Regions from separate parts of the Homo sapiens genome. Here regions 1 and 3 are each linked to region 2. Evidence: promoter capture Hi-C in 16 types of primary human blood cells and fetal thymus (Javierre and others, 2016). All regions are on one chromosome and are shown on one strand. Each heading gives the region's core, a stretch centred on a gene start or on the middle of the fragment in contact. The rest is flanking DNA. Distances are from core to core; before and after follow the strand shown.

Region 1 (2,700 bases), core at 4-2,503, 710 kb after region 2:
CACCTCATCCCCAAAAACAACCTGAGGAGGCCGTTGGAAAGCTCCGAGTTGACAAGTCTCATCCACGCACATGCTCGGTGCTTCCAATCGGTGATCAAGACCACTGCTCTTCATCCAGAGCAGGCAGCAGGGATTCCCAGGTATCCAAAGAAACCAAAACAGGCGGTGTAATTTAGGACTGACTAAGTAATGGCTCGGCCACTTTTAAGTGTGGAAGCAAAACTGACCCCACAGATTTAGAAAACTGTAACACTGCTTATTGGGAGAAACTAGTGTCACCCTGGCTAGTTCTGCTCCCCAAATTCAAAGGTAAATAAACGGTTGAGCATGTCCGATCAGCCTGGAGGGAAACCTCCACCCCCGACTTTGTAGGACTGACATCTGAAGACGTCAGAGACTGCGGTCACAACCGTCGGTACCTCCTTAGGGCGCTTAACAGAGGTCAAAGATGGCCCTCGCACCCTCCTGGCGGGAGAAAGCCCAGGCTCAGGGTGGTCTTCTACACCACCGCCTCTCCCGGGTCCACTTGGAAGCGAGTCCCAGCGAACTACTCGACCTAGGAAACCACTGGGCCGCCACTTCCAGCCTCTTCGGAAGTCGAGGCAACGCTCCTGAACGTTGCCACGGGAACAGCTGGAGGCGGGCGGATATGCCCTAGCGTTATCTAGGGGCTGGCCCGGGGAATGGCGTGGGGGCGGCGGGGCCAAGCAAGCGCCACCTCTGATTGGGCAAAACCCCCTCCCCTCACCTGCCAATAGAAACCGGCCCACTGTACAGACGCGCAAGTTTATAACCCGGGAAGAGCTGCTCTCAGAGCGGAGGGAGACCATATAACCCTGGGACTCTGCCGTACCTCCTAGAGGAACAGAGCGCCTCTCAGGCGTCAGAGGCTGCTGCAAATGCGGGTCAGCGGGTCACGGTCGCGCCTGTCTTGCTGATGCTCATGGGAAATGTAGTTCAAAGGGCATGGGCGGTGCCTTCGGTGCAGGCGAGAGATTGGTCAGCGCGGCGTCGCCGGGGCAACACCCGGCTGAGGCGCCCCGCGTTGTGCGGCGCCACATCCGGGAAGCGGCCTCCAAGCAACCGCTCCGGGTTGAGGTGAGCGCAGGCTGCCAGAGTGGGCGCAGCCTTTCCACCCCGTGGGAGGGCTTGGGGTCGCCCTCTGGGGCCTGAACGGCTCCTGCTGTCGGCGCCCTGGAGGGCCCGCCCACTTCCCGACAGGCCGCGCGCGTCACCTCAGCCTTCGCTCAGGCCTTTCCTACCCTCAACGCCGTTCCGGGGGGCCGGGCCTGGCAAGTCCTCTTGGAACGCCTCCCTCTTGCCTTCCCCTTTTGGGGACAGATCCCGAAGTTCGAGCATCCCTCGGATAGGCCGGGTGTCAGGCCTGGTCTCTCAGGCCCGTCCAGGTGGGCGTCTTTCACTGCAGACCTTCAGGGCCGGGATGCTGTGGCCATCCCTCGACTCCGCGCAACGTGGAGCTTTGGCCCCGTTTTTCTTGGCCTTTGCTTTTCGTTTTCACATGCACGGGCCCCGGCAGTGTGAGTCGCCCACGGCTCGCTGTGGTCAGCGAGCACGATGTCCACGTGCCCCCTCCCCAGAGCCATTCCTAAAGGAGGTCCCACCCAGTCAACCTCCCCGAGATTGTGGAGGGCGACTCGTCCCCGTACATTACAGCCTGGCCCCACCTTCTACCCGCCCACCCTGGTCCACTCTCCTCGCACCTCGGCTAGACACTGTGGCTCCTCAGCCTGGCGCTGGAACTCTGTGATGACTGTCTTTCTCCACCTCTTTAGCGTCATCTCCCAGCAGTCCCCTGCTGGACCCAACTGTTTGCAATTTCCAGGAAGCTCCCTGGACACCTTGCGTCCAAGCATTTGTCCCTGAGGCTTCCTCCTGCTCTCATTTGCCATCATTGTTTGGGTCCTGTGACCCTCCTCCTTCCATGAAGCTTTCTTGGCCTTATCTCTTCTGGCCTCAGAGTACACTTGGTCCTGGTCTCAGCCCCCTGGGCTGAGCCTGGTGTCTGCCTTCCCCTGGCCAGATTCTCTTGGCTGACATTCCGACCCTTCCTTTTCTGTAGGCCCATCTTGACGATTCCAAGACCACCCCCTTGAGCAAGAATGCCATCCCCTCTGGGTCCCCCATGCCTGCCCGTCATGGACCCAGAGACCACCCTTGAGGAGCCTGAGACTGCCCGCCTCCGCTTCCGAGGGTTCTGCTACCAGGAGGTGGCAGGTCCCCGAGAAGCCCTGGCCCGGCTGCGTGAGCTGTGTTGCCAGTGGCTGCAGCCTGAGGCACACTCCAAGGAGCAGATGCTGGAGATGCTGGTGCTGGAGCAGTTCCTGGGCACACTGCCTCCCGAGATCCAGGCCTGGGTGCGCGGTCAGCGGCCAGGCAGTCCTGAGGAGGCCGCTGCCCTAGTCGAAGGACTGCAGCATGACCCTGGGCAACTGTTGGGCTGGGTGAGTGTGGCTGGCATCAGCTTCTTGGAGGGATAGACCCTGGCTAGAGCCATTGTGACCTACCTCTTCTCCTCAGATCACAGCCCATGTCCTGAAGCAGGAGGTGCTCCCTGCAGCCCAGAAGACAGAGGAACCACTTGGGAGCCCCCACCCCTCAGGGACAGTGGAGTCCCCTGGGGAAGGTCCCCAGGACACCAGAATAGAGGGGTCTGTCCAGCTCAGCTGCAGTGTGAAGGAG
Region 2 (2,700 bases), core at 188-2,687:
CCTGGGAATGCAGCCGAGTATTTCTCAGCCTTACTTTATCCAGCCCATTTTCAAGATGGAGTCACTCTGATTCCAATGCCACTGACAATGATAAGCACTTGCCAGCAAAGAGGTGAACGCATGGATTTAAGGCACTTGAAATATCTCAGTGTAAAAGCACCCTGTGCATGTAGCAGGACGAGCCGCAGACAAAACCTCTCAGACACCGAGTTGCAGAAGGAAGGGCTTTATTCAGCTGGGAGCATTGGCCAGCTACTGTCTCAAAATCTGAGCTCCCGGAGTGCACAATTTCTGTCCCTTTTAAGGGCTCACAACACTAAAGATTTCACATGAAAGGGTCGTGATTGATTTGAGCAAGCAAGGGGTATGTGACAGGGGCTGCATGCACCGGTGGTCAGGGAGGAACAGAACAGGGCAGGGAGTTTCACAATGTTCTTCTATACAATCTAAGGAATCTATGAATAACATCGGCTTCTAAATCATAAGTTGATTTTTAACTACTGGGTTTAGGCCAGGCGGGCCTAGGCCTGGTTTCGGGCCTGGCGCGGGGTTGCCTGTCTTTGGTTTTACTTCCTTGTTGTTTTTACTGAATATAAAACAATGTGAGAGGGTCTCTCTCTTCTCTCATGCATACATACTCCATGTTTGAACACCGCAGCCATTGTCCTGTAACATAATAGCATTTGTCTCATTAGCTTTTTGATGTTGATATCAGATTTCTAGAGGAATCTGTAGGTTAAAGATATAAATAAAAGTGTTGCTAATGGGCTGAGAACGGTGGTTCACGCCTGTAATCCTAGCACTTCGGTAGACCATTGCAGGCAGATCACTTGAGGCCAGAAGTTCGAGACCAGCCTGGCCAAAATGAGGAAACCCCGTCTCTACTAAAAATACAAAAATTAGCAGGGTATGGTGGCACACGCCTGTAATCCCAGCTACTCGGATGGTTGAGGCACGAGAATCGCTTGAACCCGGGAGGCATAGGCTGCAGTGAGCCAAGATCACACCACTGCACCCCAGCCTGAGTGACAGAGAGAACTATGTCTTAAAAAAAAGACAAAAAAAAAAAAAAAAGGAAGAAGCCGAGCATCACAAATTCTGAAATAAGAAGTCTCCAAACACGCGGGCAATCAGTTGCACACAGTACCCCCAGAAATGTGCGTATGGCCTCTTCTAAGATGGGAGACCCTCCTCCGCATCTGGACCTGGAGTCGCCATTTCCTAGCGCCCCTCGCAGTGGAGCTTGCCCCTTTCTTCGGAAAGTCGGAAGAAAGCCACCTTAAGCGCTGCCCATGTCTGGGAACTACATTACCCAGAATCCGCCCTGCGAAATGGTAACGTGGCTGAGCCAATGAAGCTTCAGAGAAGCCGTGCCATTGCCGGGGCACGTAAAGTCAAGCCAGGACTTCCGGCGTCCTAGCCGTGGCAGCCATTTTGGCCTGTCAGGTCCATCCGGCGATGCTGGGTCTGGACGAGCTCGGGAGGAGTGGTTGTGGCCATTGCACACAGGCGGATCTGAGGTTCGGCGACGCCGCTGGTCGCGACCCGGGACAGGACAACGACAGGAACACCGCCGAGCCCGCGTTCCCCCCCCGCCCAGAGTCATGGCGGCAGCAGCCGCTCTGAGGGCGCCTGCTCAGGTGAGCGCTGCGACCTCCGGGCCTTACCCACCCTACCCACCCAGACCCTGAGGCCCCTGATCGTGAGGGCCGCCTCCTCGCGTCCCTGCAGCCCAGGCCTCTGTCAGGGACGGAGAGGCGCCGGCGGGTGGGATCCCTGTTTCCGACACCCAGTTGATGCGGTCGGCAGAGCGAGACTGGCGGAGGGCAAAGGCCTGCAGGCGCGACTGAGGCAGGAGGATGCGGAACACGGGGACATCGTGTGTCTACTGGGAAAGAAGTGTGATACGGAGTTATTTCTTTTTTTTTTTTTTTTTGAGACGGAGTCTCACTCTGTCGCCCAGGCTGGAGTGCAGTGGCGCGATCTCGGCTCACTGCAAGCTCCACCTCCCCGGTTCAAGCGATTCTCCTGCCTCAGCCTCCCGAGTAGCTGGGATTACAGGCATGCGCCACCACGGGGTTTCACCATGTTGGCTAGGCTGGCCTCGAACTCCTGACCTTAGGTGATCCGCCCACCTCGGCCTCCCAAAGTGCTGGGAATACAGGCGTGAGCCACCGCGCCTGGCCGAGGCGGAGTTGTTTCTTCAGTACCAGGCTGAGGGTTGAACTTTGACTGTGAGGACGCTAAAAGCCATGGACAGTTTTGAACAAAGGAGGAAATCTGTGTTAGAGTTGCGATTCCCAAAAGATGTTCGAAGGAAGAACAGAGTTGAAGGCAGTGATGAGGACATTGAGAGGTTGAATCATTGAGAGGTGACATTGAGCACTGGGCCACAAGATTAGAGACTCAGTCTGAAGTCATCTGGCTGCAGGGCCAAAAAAAGCTTACAGAGAAGCCTGAGTCTATCAAATCCGAGCACAGACACATTTGTGAAAGCCCTGCCTTTTGGCACACCTCATGGCTACAGAAGCACTTACAGAATCCACAGTAGGAAGTAGGGGATGCTCTAGTCCTTCACTGGTCCTCATCCTATCCCACATGTCTAGATCTTGGCATCTTTTTTTTTTTTCGGCGACGGGTTCTCACTCAACACCCAGGCTGGGTTGCGGTGACGCGATCACGGCGCAGCACGGCCTCGAC
Region 3 (2,700 bases), core at 136-2,635, 800 kb after region 2:
TTACAGGTTTGTTCCACCATGCCAGCCCACAGGCTGTTTTTTAGGACTAGAAGACACTTCTCTCCCCTGTATCCTTCCCTTCTTCTACATGTGCAACCTCATTCCTGCGCTACAGCTCTCTCTTTACCAGGTGGATGGCACCTATACACCTACAGCCTGGGCATCAGCATCACTGCTGGCGTCTCCCCCTACCCAACGCCAGCCCTTACTTCACCTTCTATTCTCTCATCTACTTCGATGTGGCTCCTCATTTGGGCCCCACCATCATTCCCCTCCCTGCTTGGAAGCCTCACTCCACCTAATCCTCCATGTCAACCTGTGCAGTCACTTGTATGGCTCAGCTCCCAGGCAGCACCCTCTCTCCCTACTCAGCCCCATCTTCTAAGCCCAACATCACACTACGCAATGCCCCATCTCAGCTTCCTGATTTAGCTGGGGTTGGAAGGGGATGGGGGAGCTTCGCAATGGGTGGGGGGGCGGCAAAGGCTCCAAGACTGCCGGAACAGGAGCCTGCAAGGAAGTCCCGAGACTCTGATTCCGCCCATCTTCAGATCACTGTGCCTTCGAGAACTTGTTTCCCCATTTGCAAGTGGGGCTGACCTCCCTCCTCGCGCTGTTCCTTCTGCAGCTGCGGCTTTAGGAAGGAATCTGCGTTTATGAAGGGGATGGCACCGCAGAATCATTCCCCCGTGGGTGGCATCGATTTCGAGGGCCGCCTCATCCTGGGGGCCAAGCCTCCACTCTTCAAGGTGCCAAGTCAACCTGAAACCCTGGGAGAGACTTGGGTCATAGCCAAGATGGCAGGTACCTACGGAGGGTCCCGAAATACACTTCCCAGAAGTCCAGGCGGCAACTTCCGCTCCAGGGTGCCAAGGTAGGTCCAGACGACGCCTAGGCAACCGGGGGCGGGGCTCCCAAAGCCTGTCGTCGTGGCAACGAGTAGTGATTGACAAGCCTCTCGCTCTAGCCCTGGGCGCTCCCGCAAGGACTGCCCGGATTCGTTCCCCGCGCTTCCGGTCTCACTGGGGAGCCGGAATCCCCGAGTCTGCAGCCACCGCCCCCGTCCACACGATAGCCCTCCCGGTTAAGAGGACCCCGCCCTCACCTCTGCGCTCAGCGGGCCGCTCCGCGCTCCTGAGCACGCGCAGTCTTCGACTTCCCCCTCCCGCTGGACTACGTCTCCCAGGATGCTCCGCGCACCAGCTCGAGCGCCTCCTTGCCCTTCCCCCACCCTCGTCCCCGTTTCTACACCCTCTCCTCCCTTCCCCTAGCGGTGGTCGCAATGATCAGGTCATACTCCTGGCCGCTTCTTCCCATGCTCCCCGCCTCGAATCCGTGCGTCGGCATGCGCAAGCCTCTCAGGTACAACAGACGGCAGCACCGCCTACCAGATCGCGCATGCCCCCCACCACGTTTTCCTCACTTCTCTACGGGCCTTCCTGAGATTAGCAGGATCCTGCACCAATCACGGCCGTCATTAGAACTCCGTCGGTGCCCCACCGCGTCTCCATGGCAACTCCCTACAGGAAGGGGCCTCTGCTACTTCCTAGACCGCAAAATGGAGAAAGGCTTGGCCCGATGCTTTCCGGCAGATGTAGTCAGCAGGCCCTTCGTGTGTACGTGCGCGCGCGGCGCGATGACGTTCCTCTGTGATCATGGGCGAGGGGCGGGCCCTGAACGTCTCCATGGTAACCTGGGGACACGACTCGACATCGCCTGGGTAACCCGGAGACGCGGCGGGCGTTGAAAATGCAATGGGGCATGTGGGATGAAGAGGTGGGGAAGGGTACTGGGGCAGAGAGATGCCGATCGATAGAAACAGCGAGGAGAGACGGAGAGAGACCAGAGACTCAAGGGCAAAGAGAGACGAAGGACCGGCGGGAGGAAGAGAGAGAGAGACAGAGAGACAGACTCACAGACTGGGAGGACCGGAGACTCGACGCGAGGAGAGACAGTGAAAATAAGTGAACAAACATAGAGACACGGGTCCAAGTTATAAGAGGGCTGAGTGGATCAGAGGGTCAGGGCCGGGCAAACAGGTGTCAGAACAGTTAGCAAGAGAGAGGCAGATCAGAAAGGGATGCAGATGAAAGAGACACAAAGAAGGAAACGCAGAATGGGTTCACAGAGACAAGAAATGCAGATATCCAGACTCAAGAGGTAGACAAGAAGGGAGAGGGACAGAAACAAGAAGGGAGAAAAGGGACAGAAATTAGAGATACAGTAAGATGGATTGACAGTTTTCGAAGACCTAGAGAAAGATGACAGCACGAAGAGAGACAGGGAGAATCCGAGGTAAAACTGTTAGGAAAACTTAGGAGTCCAGATGCTGTCCAGTTATATGCTACCCTGTACAGGTTGATAGGTTGCAAATGCTTTCTGTCCAGTGTATCGCTTTGTAGCTCACTAAGCAGTTTTGTATCCAACTTTGTGCTTTTATTTCAGTGTTTTTCTTTTTCTTTCTTTCTTTTTTTTTTTTTTTTTTTTGACGGAGTCTCGCTGTTGCCAGACTGGAGTGCAGTGGCACGATCTCGGCTCACTGCAACCTCCGTCTCCCAGGTTCAAGCGATTCTCCTGCCTCAGCCTCCCGAGTAGCTGGGACTGCAGGCTGCTCCACCACACCCGGCTGATTTTTGTATTTTTAGTAGAGATGGGGTTTTACCATGTTGGCCAGACTGGTCTTGACCTCCAGACCTCTGG

The links. Contacts are between HindIII fragments. The CHiCAGO score rates a contact against its expected background, and 5 or more counts as called.
Region 1: a contact is called between the fragment with the promoter of ZNF446 here and the fragment with the promoter of ZNF586 in region 2, in 1 of 17 cell types (neutrophils). The highest score is 5.1, in neutrophils.
Region 3: the fragment with the promoter of MZF1 here is called in contact with the fragment with the promoter of ZNF586 in region 2 in 2 of 17 cell types (naive B cells and total B cells); the score reaches 5.7 in naive B cells.

What each region holds. Positions count from the first base shown.
Region 1 is chr19:58,475,099-58,477,798 of GRCh38, forward strand. It overlaps ZNF446 (zinc finger protein 446), which reads left to right and starts at 1,254. Exons shown (of 7, transcript NM_017908.4): 1 at 1,254-1,406; 2 at 2,081-2,462; 3 at 2,539-2,700. The coding sequence starts at 2,121. ZNF324 (zinc finger protein 324) reads left to right here. Exons shown (of 4, transcript NM_014347.3): 4 at 1-338. RefSeq lists enhancers at 343-432, 493-552, 793-1,042, 864-1,158, 1,313-1,512. The HindIII fragment of the contact is 6,419 bases long and covers 1-1,946 here.
Region 2 is chr19:57,768,239-57,770,938 of GRCh38, forward strand. It overlaps ZNF586 (zinc finger protein 586), which reads left to right and starts at 1,438. Exons shown (of 3, transcript NM_017652.4): 1 at 1,438-1,640. The coding sequence starts at 1,605. RefSeq lists enhancers at 1,162-1,701, 1,423-1,672. The HindIII fragment of the contact is 1,086 bases long and covers 1,356-2,441 here.
Region 3 is chr19:58,571,950-58,574,649 of GRCh38, forward strand. MZF1 (myeloid zinc finger 1) reads right to left here and starts at 1,386. Exons shown (of 6, transcript NM_198055.2): 1 at 1,106-1,386. MZF1-AS1 (MZF1 antisense RNA 1) reads left to right here. Exons shown (of 6, transcript NR_027334.2): 4 at 1-6; 5 at 629-874; 6 at 968-2,700. RefSeq lists enhancers at 91-952, 953-1,812, 1,181-1,270, 1,331-1,760. The HindIII fragment of the contact is 12,442 bases long and covers 1-2,700 here.